Regions from separate parts of the Homo sapiens genome. Here region 2 is linked to region 1. The links are contacts of gene promoters, found by promoter capture Hi-C in blood cells and fetal thymus (Javierre and others, 2016). All regions are on one chromosome and are shown on one strand. The core of a region is centred on a gene start or on the middle of the fragment in contact, and the rest is flanking DNA. Distances in the headings are between cores, read along the strand shown.

What was found. The method cuts DNA at HindIII sites, captures the fragments that hold promoters and counts their contacts. A CHiCAGO score of 5 or more calls a contact.
Region 2: a fragment that was not itself captured here is called in contact with the fragment with the promoter of KRT39 in region 1 in 1 of 17 cell types (erythroblasts); the score reaches 5.2 in erythroblasts.

Annotation. Positions count from the first base shown.
Region 1 is chr17:40,962,600-40,969,383 of GRCh38, forward strand. KRT39 (keratin 39) reads right to left here and starts at 4,349. Exons shown (of 7, transcript NM_213656.4): 1 at 3,790-4,349; 2 at 1,847-1,929; 3 at 1,028-1,184. The coding sequence starts at 4,257. The region is part of intron 1 of LOC107985072 (a long non-coding RNA gene); the gene reads left to right. The HindIII fragment of the contact is 5,044 bases long and covers 2,069-6,784 here.
Region 2 is chr17:41,194,391-41,201,174 of GRCh38, forward strand. No RefSeq gene overlaps it. Among named protein-coding and RNA genes, the nearest start is that of KRTAP9-1, 7.9 kb to the left of the region's middle. The HindIII fragment of the contact is 1,378 bases long and covers 2,280-3,657 here.

The sequences.
Region 1 (6,784 bases), core at 3,099-5,598:
ACAGATAACCCCTTTGTGTTCTTGTTTCACTCTAACTGCTACGATTTAGCTTAATTGTGTCTAAAATATAGCCCACAACAAAGGAATACATGATTTACAGGTGTTATTGAGATGCTATAAAATGATTTAAGACTCTTTCAGGTAGGACTGTGTGTTTAAATGTGTGCAAAATTAAAAAAAAATGAGTAGCAAGACCAGAGTTCCAAAAAATTTAGATCATTTCCAGGGCTGGATAATGGGTGAAACAGGATAAAGGTGGAATTGATCATGAGAGATTATAGTCTCTATGGTGCAAATACGGGATTGTGCCAATATTGACTTGCACCAATATTGACTTGTACCAATGGGAGGTGGCAGAAGCCTGTATAGGGATGCCTACAAACATGGGAAGACTGTAAGGACAGAAAAATTGGGTTCCTTCTTGTAGAAAAGCTGGAGGGGATGTTGGAGGCCTTTCTTCCCCTTATGGCTCCAGATATTGTGTTGGAGCCAGTGGATTTGAAATACTACCTTGAACCAGTGCTAGTAGCAGTAGGTATTTTCAGGGCTAAACCAGAGTAGTACGTAGCAGTGGTTTGGCTCTGTGTCCCCACCCAAATCTCATCTCGAATTGTAATTCCCATAATTCCCATGTGTCAAGGGAGGGACCTAGTGGGAGGAGATTGGATCATGGGGGTGGTGTCCCCCATGCTGTTCTTAGGATAGTGAGTGAGTTCTCACAAGATCTGATAGTTTTATAAAGGGCTCTTCCCCCTTTGGTCTCTCTCTGTCTCCTGCTGCCAAGTGAGATGTGCCTGCTTCCCCTTAAGCCATGATTGTAAGTTTCCTGAGGCCTCCCCAGCCATGTGGAACTGTGACTCAGTTACACTTCTGTCCTTTATAAATTACCTACTCTCAGTTATTTCTTTATAGCAGTGTGAGAACGAACTAATACAAGCGGGCACACCCTTTGTCAGGTGCAACTCAAAGGAACTGATGCTACTTTTAGGGACTTAGCTTGTGATTACTCTATTGGTCTTTGTCTCACCTCTTTGTGGTTGTTCTTGAGGCAAAGGAGCTCCTCTTTCAGAGACTGGACTTGTGCCTCTAGGTCGGCCTTGCCCAGGGTCAGCACATTCAGGATCTGCTTGAGGCCATTGGCATCTGACTCTACCAGCTGGCGTAGAGACACCTCAGCTTCGTATCTTTAAAAACCAGATGGGAAAAGAGAGACATCTGAAAGGAGATGATGCAAACCAAGCCAAGCAGAACTCTCATCTGCATTTTGCTCTGGGCACCTCACTTAGTGTATTTCTATTAGAAGTTTTATTCTCTTTGGAGGTGAAACCATTTGATATAGATCATAACTTAATTATTATTCCCAAATTAGTTTGCTAGGGGGATCTACATTGCTGTTCTTTGAGATATGGGAATTTATTGTCCTTCCTCTGCCCCTAGTGGCAATGCAATGTAAGTGAAGAAAGCACTGGATTAGGGCTCAGAAAACATGTGTCCAAGTTTCGGTTTTGACTTGTGCTAGTTATGCTTACCTTTGGGTGAGTAACTTAGCCTCACTAAGCCACAGATTTCTCACCTTAAAGAGAGTAACAATATATTAGTCCTATCTATTTTACTGAACTATTGTGTAGGTAATCAAATGGGTTCACAAGTTAGAAACTATAGGTACTGTATACATGTGAGCAGTTATTAATCTTAATCATTCATTGAATTTGAAAGTCTTTTCTGGGCTTGTGCCAACATCATCTGGGGCAAGAGGGTTAGTAGACATGGGGACAATTTTGTTGAGGGCATCTCGGTCAGACTCAGGGTGAGCTCTGTCATTGATGACGGTGTTGGGTGGGCTTACTTGGCTCTCAAGTCATCTGCAGTCAGTTTGGTGTTGTCAATTTGCGAGACCAGTCTGGAATTCTCGGCCTTGGTACACAAGATCTAGAATTAAGAGATTGTACACACAAATGAAGCAAACACCAAGATTTCCTTCTTTAAGAACCAAGGGGTTTGTGTGTGTGTCAAGTAACAGGGGAAGGCTAAGTAGACTTTTTATTAATCTTCATAGCTATGCTCACAAAGCTTGGAAAACTTCAGAAAGTCAGATTTCCTGTTATTTTCCTAAAAGATCAGCAAAAAGTACTTAACTAGAAACTTTTAAGTATTTTTTTTGTTGTTGTTGTTAAAAAATCCAGGCTGAGAGCAGTGGCTCACCCATGTAATATCAGCACTTGGGAGGCTGAGGCGGGCGGATCACGAGGTCAAGAGATCAAGACCATCCTGGCCAACATGGTGAAACCCTGTCTCTACTAAAAAATACAAAAATTGGCCGGGCGCAGTGGCTCACGCCTGTAATCCCAGCACTTTGGGAGGCCGAGGCGGGTAGATCACGAGGTCAGGAGATCAAGACCATCCTGGCTAACACGGTGAAACCCCGTCTCTACTAAAAATATAAAAAAAAAAAAAATTAGCTGGGCGTGGTGGCGGGCGCCTGTAGTCCCAGCTACTTGGGAGGCTGAGGCAGGAGAATGGCATGAACCCAGGAAGCGGAGCTAGCAGTGAGCCGAGATCGCGCCACTGCACTGCAGCCTGGGAGACAGAGCGAGACTCCGTCTCAAAAAAAAAAAAAAATACAAAAATTATCTGGGTGTGGTGGTGCGTGCCTGTAGACCCAGCTACTAGAGAGGCAGAGGAGGGAGAATCGCTTGAACCTGGGAGCTGGAGGTTGCAGTGAGCAGAGATCGCGCCATTGCACTCCAGCCTGGTGACAGAGTGAGACTCCATCTCAATAAATACATAAATAAATAAATAAAAAATAAAATAAAATCCATCCTAAATTTATATAAATACCATGATCCACTAGAATGTCAACTCCATGAGGGCAGGGACTTTTTAAAGGTCACCAATATTTTCCCAGAATCTAGAACAATGTTTGGCCCAATGTTGTTGCTGCTCAGTAAACATTTGTTGAATGAATAAAACTGAATAAATCCAGATATGTAGTAGCAGAATACGTCTGTGCATAACAAACTTAGGTTTGGTGTAGAAACAAACCAAGCAATGTGGAGATGATAACATAAGCATAAAAGGAGAAAAAGGTGGTGATGGTTGAAAAATGGATAAAAACTAAATTGCTTAGAAACTCATTAAAGCAAAATTTATTTTCTCTGATCTCTGTTTCCCTATTTTTATTTAAAAAATGGCAACAACTTGCTGTTAACATCTTTTGGTCCTGAGTCATCTAGTTATAATGGTAGAGTGTATTTCTGGAGAAAGGAAACACCATGAGACTCTTCTTTTTGTTTCTGATTTTTAAAGACATAGTCTCACTTTTGTCTGGGCTGGAGTGCAGTGGCAGGATCTTGGCTCATGGCAGCCTCAACCTCTTGGGCTCAAGTGATCCTCCCACCTCAGCCTCCCAAGTAGCTGGGACCACAGGCATGTGCCACCACGCCCATCTAATTTTTTTTTGTGTGTGTATGTGTGTGTGTGTGTGTGTGTGTGTAAGGATGGAATTTCATCATGTTGCCCAGGATGGTCTAGAACTCCTGGGCTCAAGTGATCTGTCTGCCTCAGCCTCCCAAAGTGTTAGGATTACAGGTGTGCATCACTGCGCCTGACCAGAAATACTATCAGACTCTGAATGCTGCCTCAAGATGACAATTTCACTCAAGAAATTTTTCTATTCTTCAAAAAAATTTTCAGCATCAACTGAACAAAAAATATTAAAGTTTAGCAAATAACTGTTGCTTGGAAACCATTAATTCACAACACGATTAAACAGGTTCTTAGGAATCTTACCTTCTGCTGGAGCTCCTCAATGGTAGTGTAGTAAGACAGGTAATCAGGACATAGAACAGGGAGCTCTTTGTTACTTTCTTCCTGGATTTTAGATTCCAGTTCAGCATTCTCTCGTTCTAGCATTCGCACCTTTTGCAGGTAGTTAGCAAGGCGCTCGTTCAAGATTTGCATGGTCTCCTTCTCATTACTGTTGATGCCTTCACCATACCAGCTGCAGTCATCCAGAGAAAAACGGGCATTGAAGTTGTTCATTAGGTAGATGGGCTTGCGACAAAAGCGAGGAGTGGGTTGGCAGCCCTGGTCCCAGGGAATTCTGAGAACGTGGCCAGCTGGTTGACAGTTGTTGACTGTAAGGCCACCAGGATGGCAGCCGTTGTTAGAAGAGATGGTACTAACATTTGTAATCCTAGAGCAGTTTTGACATGGGGTTGAAGGAGAATTGGTTGTTGTACAGCCCTTGGTGTCCATAGTATGTGTCTGGCTTTAGTTTGTTCCAGGTCTGTGGTCACCAGGATGAAAAGCTCAAGCCACCTCCACAGAGTCTGAATTCCAAGGCTCTTGGTGTTTTCCTCTTTGAAGTGCTTATATAGCCTCTCTTCTACGTGGTGTCACACAGGTGGGATGTTTTCCTTTCTCAGGTTTATATCAAATCCTGTAGGAACATCTTATTAGTCTGCTTTTTACTTGCTTAAGAAGAGTTATTTGTCTCATAAACATGTGCATTTAGGCTGTTAGTAAGTTATTACCCATCATAACTACTACTTGTCTATTGGACCCAGAGCTTCAAATTATGTCTTCAAAAGGAACTGTCCTAACAGCATCCATTATTAAGCAGGTGTGAGTATACTAAGTTCATTACATTCTTGTTGACCTCTCCACTTGGCACTGAGCTTAACCAGGAATGAGTTCATCCTTCTTTTCCTTTCTTCTCTAGAAAAGGGAAACTATTAATGTTTAATAATTATTGGTAAACTTAGAAATCAGAAGTCAATATTTTAGTTTGTTCTGCCCAAATGGTTTCCCCATTTTCAGTGTCAGGACAATGTGAGTATGAATTAAAATGTTAGTCTTTTAAAAGTCTTGTTTTAAAGATAATTGCTAGATTTATGTTTTAGCTTTCCATAAAATGTAATAACATAAAATAAAATATAAATAAAATATGAAATAAAATAAAAGCCATGGGGAAAAGGTAGGGTTTGATTGCTAATAAGAAATTTCTTGGAAAAGAGACTAGCTCTCTTTTGGTTTTCCAAAGTCCACATTTTATAACATTTTTAGTGCTTGGTGTTTGCTTGTGGTATTACATTAGATAAAAATGTATCACAGTGTTGGTTTATACTGGATGTTTAAATAGGATTCATTGAAAGGGGTGTGTTTTCTTTCTGAGGAATACTTACTCAGCATTTTCTTCAGAAAGTTACTTGCTGCTAATCCTTTATGGAGGCTCTAGGGGAACATCATTTTCTTGCCTTTTCCAGCTTCTACAGGCTGTCCACATCCTCAGCTAGTGGCCCCTTTTCATCCTTTTTTTTTTTTCTTGAATTATGAGATTTTTTGTACTTTGAGTTCTGGGATACATGTGCAGAACGTGCAGGTTTGCTACATAGGTATACAAGTGCCATGGTGGTTTGCTGTACCCATCAACCTGTCATCTACATTAGGTATTTCTCCTAATGCTATCCCACCCCTAGCCCCTCACCCCCTCACAGTCCCCGGTGTGATGTTCCCCTCCCTGTGTCCATGTGTGCTCATTGTTCAACTCCCACTTATGAGTGAGAACATGCAGTGTTTGGTTTTCTGTTCCTGTGTGAGTTTGCTGAGAATGATGGTTTCCAGCTTTATTCATGTCCCTGCAAAGGACATGAACTAATCCTTTATTATGGCTGTATAGTATTCCATGGTGTATATGTGCCACATTTTCTTTATCCAGTCCATCATTGATGGGCATTTGGGTTGGTTCCATGTCTTTGCTATTGTGAATAGTGCTGCAATAAACATACATGTGCATGTGTCTTTATAGTAGAATGATTTATAATCCTTTGGGTATGTATCAAGTAATAGGATTGCTGGGTCAAACTGTATTTATGGTTCTTGATCCTTAAGAAATTGCCACACTGTCTTCTGCATTGGTTGAACTAATTTACACTCCCACCAACTGTGTAAAAGTGTTCCAATTTCTCTCCATCCTCTCCAGCATCTGTTGTTTCCTGACTTTTTAATGATTGTCATTCTAACTGGTGTGAGATGGTATCTCATTGTGGTTTGATTTGCATTTCTCTAGTGACCAGTGATGATGAGCTTTTTTCATATGTTTGTTGGCCACATAAATGTCTTCTTTTGAGAAGTGTCTTTCTATATCCTTAGCCCATTTTTTTGATGGGGTTGTTTGTTTTTTCTTGTAAATTTGTTTAAGTTCCTTGTAGATTCTGTATATTAGCCCTTTGTCAGATGGACAGATTGCAAAAATTTTCTCCCATTCTGTAGGAGGCTGAGGCAGAAGAATTACTTGAACCCAGGAGTTCAAGTTCAGGTGGGCAACACAGTGCGATTTCATTTTTAATAAAATAAAATAAAATACAAAATAAAAGCCATGGGGAAAAGGTAGACCGTTATATGTATTATATGTACTTTGGGGACAATTTTGTATTCCCTTTGGTGTGGGGGCAGGGAATGTTGAAACCATACTTCATCCTTTACAGTGGGACGAATTACAAGTAGATCAAAGATTGAGATATGAAAAATAAATAATAAATATGCCCAAAAGGATAATTATTTTATAAATTTGGAGTCAGAAGACTTTTCCAATGATGACTCAAAATTAAGAAGCCGTAAAAAACTGTTAGATTTGACTCCATAAAATAACAGTGTTTGAACTTGTGCTTGGGTGAAAAATACAACCTGTAAAACCAGAAGACAAGATGACAAACTGGGAAACAATATTACAATTACACTCTAGACAGTGACCAAAAGGAAAATACAAAAGGCACTTAAAATA
Region 2 (6,784 bases), core at 1,719-4,218, 230 kb after region 1:
TGAGAACACATGGACACAGGGAGGGGAACAACATACACCAGAGCCTGTCTAGGGTGGAGGGCAAGAAGAGGGAGAGTATTAGGACAAATAGCTAATGCATGCCAGGCTTAAAACCTAGATTACGGGTTGATAGGTGCAGCAAACCACCATGACACATGTATACCTATGTAATAAACCTGCATGTTCTGCACATGTATCCCAGAAATTAAAGTACAATTTTAAAAAAAGTAAACTGATATCCAAAACACATTGCATCATATCATGGCTATGTAGATTTTTGCCCAAAAACTTTCAGTTAAAAGTTAAAATGAAAAAAATAAAGTTGAGATGAAATGGGGAAAAAAATAGAATAGGTAAGATTGTGAATATCCAGCAAAAGTTCTGTGAACTCAATTCTAACAAAGCAGAAGTTGTGGTTAATAAGGTCAGTGATGGTCTTCACAATAGCAAAGACATGGAATCAACCTAAATGCTTATCAATGGTAGACTAGATAAAGAAAATGTGGTATATGTATGCCATGGAATACTACACAGGCATAAAAAAAGAATGAGATCATGCCCTTTGCAGCAACATAGATGGAGCTGGAGGCCATTATCCTAAGCAAACTAACACCGGAACAGAAAATTAAATACTGCTTATTATCTCCACTTATAAGTAGGAGCTAAAAATTGAGTAAATATGGACACAAAGATAGGGACAACAGAGATACCTGTGTCTACTTAAGGGTGGAGGGTGGGAGGGGGGTGAGGATTGAAAAACTGCCTGTCAGGTACTATGCTGATTACCTGGGTGACAAAATAATCTGTACACCAAACCCTGCAACATGCAGTTTACCTATATAACAAACCTGCAGCCGGGCGTGGTGGCTCACGCCTGTAATCCCAAAACTTTGGGAGGCCGAGGTGAGTGGATCACCTGAGGTCAGGAGTTCGAGACCAGCCTGACCAACATAGAGAAAGCCTGTCTCTACTGAAAATACAAAATTAGCCGGGTGTGGTGGCGCATGCCTGTAATCCCAGCTGCTTGGGAGGCTGAGGCAGGAGAATGGCTTGAACCCAGGAGGCGGAGGTTGCAGTGAGCTGAGATCGCACCATTGTGCTCCAGCCTGGGCAACAAGATCTAAACTCCATCTGAAAAAAAAAAAAAGTCCTGCACATGTACCCTTGAACTTAAAATAAAAGTGAAAAAAAATAAAGAAATAAAGTCAGTGATGAAGACCTTGGGAAACAGTGAGCATCTTAAAGTCTGCAAAGGCTGGGGAGAAGAAATACGCCTGGTAAGAATGTCATCTGTTCAGTAAGAAGGCAGATGCCAGAGCTTAGAAGAAATTTAAGGTGATTTTTTTGGGACGAAGCACTGGGAGAAAAGATGGCTAGTAAGAGTAGGAACCTCACAGGAATTCCTTTCGGTTCATTCCATTTGCAAATGATCCCAATGAGGAAAAATTGCCAGAGGCCTAGAGTGGAAGGAGCTAATGCAAAAATTATTCTGGCAATGTGAATTCTAAACACTATTGGGATGCAAGCGTTGGCTGGACAATCATTAGAACATTGTGCCAAGGATTCGCAGTGTCTGGTAATTGGTTATTATTATTGGACTTCAGAGGTCACTTCAGTTCTTGAGATACTTCAAAAGTTCCCAAATGTTTTTGTTGGATTCAAAATTGACCATTCGCTGATTTTTGAAGTCCATAAGCAACAAAATATGTAAAATATGTAAAATTTAAAAAGAAACACAAAGTGCCATACATACTTATTAGGCATCCTTTGGAGGAAACAGGAAGGCTGTCTTCCAGGGTAGTAAATACTACCTTGAAAAACGTACCAGTATCTGGCCTTCAGCCTTGCACACTCCAGAAACTGAAATTATTTACATTCTAAGAGTGAAACCACCTCTGGGAGCAGGCTCACTTTCACCAAGCCCATAACATTAGTACCAGTTGAAGAATCTACATGAGAAATAACTTAAAGAGAAGATGACATTTTCATGGGTCTTTTTGACCAGGATATTTTCTTCCTATAGATATACCTGCATGAAAAGTGAAATTATAACCAAAGGTTATTTTCTTTTTTATAATTAAACTTTTTGAGATAATTGTAGATTCACATGCAGTTGCAAGAAATAATACAAAGAAACCTCTGTACTCTTTACCAAGTTTCCCCCCAATGATAACTTCTTGCAAAACTACAGTACGGTATCACAAGTCCAATGGTGACATTGATACCTTCAAGACACAGAGTAGCTCCATCAGCACAAGGATCCCTTGTATTGCCCTAAAAGCTTATTTTCTCAGCAAATATTTAGAACATTCTAATATTCTAGAAGTTCTAATAATACGGAATGGCATCTAATGCATTTGTTCTAAAACAGATTTTGCCAGGCACTCTGGAAAATTCAAGTGCCTTGGGTGGCTCTCCCTCCCCCATGCAATGTGTCGTAACCAGCACTTCTGAATTTGTCTCAGACTCTCTCTTTTCTCTAAGCTGCCATGGCTCACCAAACCTCCACCCCCATTTATAAGTCCCAGGTTCTTTTTAAAACCATCTTCAATCAACTTACAGTAATTTCTGCAGGTCTTGAAGCAGCCCCTCCCATGTTCCCCAACTTCTGATACAACCTCATTTATGCCTTTGCCTCATAAAGACCTACAAAACATTTTTAATTTTGTTTACTTTTGCCATCATATTTATGGATCATTTATGAAGTTTCAGGCCATAGCATACAAATTATATTTTAGGCAACTCCGGATTTTGTCCACTTTCTCTTTCTTCCAAATAAAAATATAAGCTGCAGCCATGCAGGTCTGTCTTCAGAAACTGGCATGGGCTCTTTGTTATCATTAGACAGTAACATGACATCATACACCTGTTTGTGTGATTCCCCCATCACACTCCTTCCCCTGGGATCCCTCAGTGAGTTCTGATGGTTTATGCACATCCTACTGCAATTTTTCCTATGACTGCCATTAAACATAAAAGACAATTCCACACTTCAGTCCTCTATTAAAATATAATATTATTATGGACAAGACCAAGTAATGCTTTCACGAAATGGTTTTTCATTTTCTTTAGCTCTGTCCAGTGTACAATGTATGTAACAAAACTTCCCTATTTTTCCACTGGAGAACCTCCATTCAGAATTCCCCCTAGATGGCAGATGTTGGCATGATTTTACTCCAGTATGTGTTTTAAAAAGAAAAGGAATGACACTCCCTAATTCCAATCCCAGCTATAACATTGATAGTTTAAGAAGTGTGAGAGAGCCCCCAGAACTGCCAATATTGGAAGTCCTATCAACATCAGATTGACTCACTGGAGAATTGTGAGGTTTGTTATGTTCAGAGTTTGCTCATGTGTAAAATGTGGAAAAATGGAAAAAGAATCAGAGGAACATGTATAATGATTCCCACTGAGGTTAACAAGTGTAGATTTGTTTCTAAGATATTAAGAACTTCATGAAATTATAGAAATTTTGAAGACTGATAATACTGATATTATATGAAATTATAGAAATTTTGAAGACTGATAACACTGTATTATGTAAGTTGTTCTGAGAGATTCCCACGGTATTTGTATGATGTTTCAATACCTTCTTTCAGCTTAGATAAGAATATTGGAATCTTCTGAAAATCGATATCAGAATCTACCCAACCTAAAAGCTTTCTACTGTACCTGTCTAATTAATATAAAAGCTTGAGAGTACTTGATATAAGTATAAATAAATGATATAAAGGCTTGAGAGGATGTTGATAGAACTTCTAGGGATTGGATTTAGGGAGTGTCCTTCCTTTTCTTTTTAAAACACATACTGGAGTAAAATCATGCCAACATCTGAAGTCCCCTCAGAATGGAGTACAGATATTATGAATCCAGATTCACCAAGAAGTTAGTTTTTTTTTTTTTAATTTAAAAAGCTGCTCATGCTGGGAATGTAAACTGGTACAACCACTGTGGAAAATAGTGTGGAGATTCCTTAAAGAACTAAAAGTAGAACTACCATTTGATCCAGCAATCCCAAAACTGGATATCTACCCAGAGGAAAAGAAGTCATTATACGAAAAAGATACTTGCACGTGCATGTTTATAACAGCACAATTTGCAATTGCAAAAAATATGAAACCAGCCCAAATGCCCATCAATCAATGAGTGGAAAAAGAAATGGTTGTATATATGATGGAATACTACTCAGCCATAGAAAGGAATGAATTAATGACACAGCAATCTGGATGGAATTGGAGACTATTATTCTAAGAGAAGTAATTCAGGAATGGAAAACCGAACCTGAAATCTTGTAAGTGGGAGCTAGCTATGAGGATGCAAAGGCATAAGAATGATACAATGGACTTTGGGGACTCAGGGGAAAAGATGGAAGGGGTGATGGATAAAAGACTACAAATTGGGTTCAGCATACACTACTCGGGTGATGGGTGCACCAGAATCTCACAAATCACCACTAAAGAACATACTCATGTAACCAAATACCACCTGTTCCCCAAAAACTTATGGAAGTAAATTTTTTTTTAAAAAAAAAGCTGCTCAGCTCTGTCTGATGCATGATCTCGTGGTAACAGTGGAAGTGGTCAGATGTTTGTCCGATCTCCAAAACCCATGTTCTTCTACCTTTTAAAGATAAAATGCTTCTTAAAACTGTTTCATCGGGGCATGGTGGCTCACGCCTGTAATCCCAGCACTTTGGGAGGCTGAGGCAGGTGGACTGCCTGAGGTCAGGAGTTCGAGACCAGCCTGGCCAACATGATGAAATCCCATCTCTACTAAAAATAGAAAAAAATTAGCTGCGCGTAGTGGCGTGTGCCTGTAATCCCAACTACCTGGGAGGCTGAGACATGGGAATTCCTTGAACCAGGAAGATGGAGGTTGTAGTGAGCTGAGATCGCACCACTGCACTCCAGCCTGGGCAACAGTGAGACTCCGTCAAAAAAAAAAAAAAAACACCACTAACACACACACAAAAACCTGTTTCTTCCTTTGTTAAATTAAATTTCTAATTAAAATTTTTATTTTTAAAGAATAGAGATTGGCATGCCATTGTAAGATGTGATACAAGAGATCCATGTACTCTTTGCCCAGTTTCCCCAAAAAATAACATCCTCCAAAACTATAGAAAAACATCACCAACAGCATATGATATTGATATTGACATAGCCAATGTACAACACATTTCTGTCACTGCAATGATCTCTTTTGATTGTTCTTTTATAGCCACTCTCACCTGCCTCCCACACCCACTCCTTTCTTTATACCTGGCAACCACCAATCTGTTCTTCATTTGTATAATTCTGTCATTTCAAGGATGTTGTATAAAAAGAATCATACAGTGCTTAACATTTTGAGACTGGTTTTTTCAACACAGCATAATTCCGTGAAAATTTAAACAGATTGTTGAACAGTTTTTCCTTTTTGTCACTAAGAATTACCCTCTGGTATGTATGTACCACAGTTTGTTTGATCATGTGTTGAAGGACATCTGGGTCGCTTCCAGTTCAAAGCAGCCATAAACATTCATGTACAAACATTTGTGTGAACAAGTACAATTACTGAGTTGTATGGTAGTTACATGTTTAATTTTTTTTTTTTTTTTTTTTTTTTACAGAGTCTTGCTCTGTCACCGAGGCTGGAGTGCAGTGGCACTGTCTCGGCTCACTGCAACCTCCGCCTCCTGGGTTCTAACGATTCTCCTGCCTCAGCCTCCCGAGTTGCTGGGATTACAGACATGCGCCACCACGCCCGCTAACTTTTTGTATTTTTAGTAGAGACAGGGATTTACCATGTTGGCCAAGCTGGTCTCAAACTCCTGACCTCAGGCAATCCATCCGCCTCAGCCTCCCAAAGTGCTGGGATTACAGGCATGAGCCACTGTGCCCGGCCAGCATGTTTAATTTTTAAGCAACAGCATCAACTGTTTGCAGAGTGTCTGTACCATTTTACATGTATGACTGATTCTGTTTCTTTGAACACTCACCAGCATTTATTTTAGCCATTTTGATAGGTGTGCTAACTTTTCGTGGTTTTAGTTTGCATTTCCCTAATGGCTAATGATGTTGAACATCTTTTCACATGCTTATTTGTCATCTGTATATCTTTTTCCATGAAATATTTCTTCATGTCTTTTGCCCATGCTGTACTTTTAGTGTTTGCTTTCTAATTGTTCAGTTTTTAAAGTTCTTTATACATTCTAGGTACTACTCCTTTGTCAAATATGTGATTTGCAAATATATATCATGTATAGTTCACAGCTTGTCTTTTTCTCCTCTGTTCTTTTGCAGAACATAATTTTTTTAATCAATTTATTAATTTCTCTTTAATGGATCATGTTTTTGGTGCTACCTAAGAACTCTTTGGTCTTACATGCTAAAGATTTTCTTCCATTTTTTTCTAAAAGTTTTATAGTTTTATATTTTATATTTAAGTTTGTAATTTATTTTTTTGATTCTTTTTTGTTTGTTTTGTTTTGTTTTCTTTCTTTTTTTTATTATACTTTAAGTTTTAGGGTACATGTGCACATTGTGCAGGTTAGTTACATATCTATACATGTGCCATGCTGGTGCACTGCACCCACTAACTCGTCATCTAGCATTAGGTATATCTCCTAATGCTATCCCTCCCCACTCCCCCGACCCCACCACAGTCCCCAGAGTGTGATATTCCCCTTCCTGTGTCCATGTGATCTCATTGTTCAATTCCCACCTATGAGTGAGAACATGCGGTGTTTGGTTTTTTGTTCTTGCAATAGTTTACCGAGAATGATGATTTCCAATTTCATCCA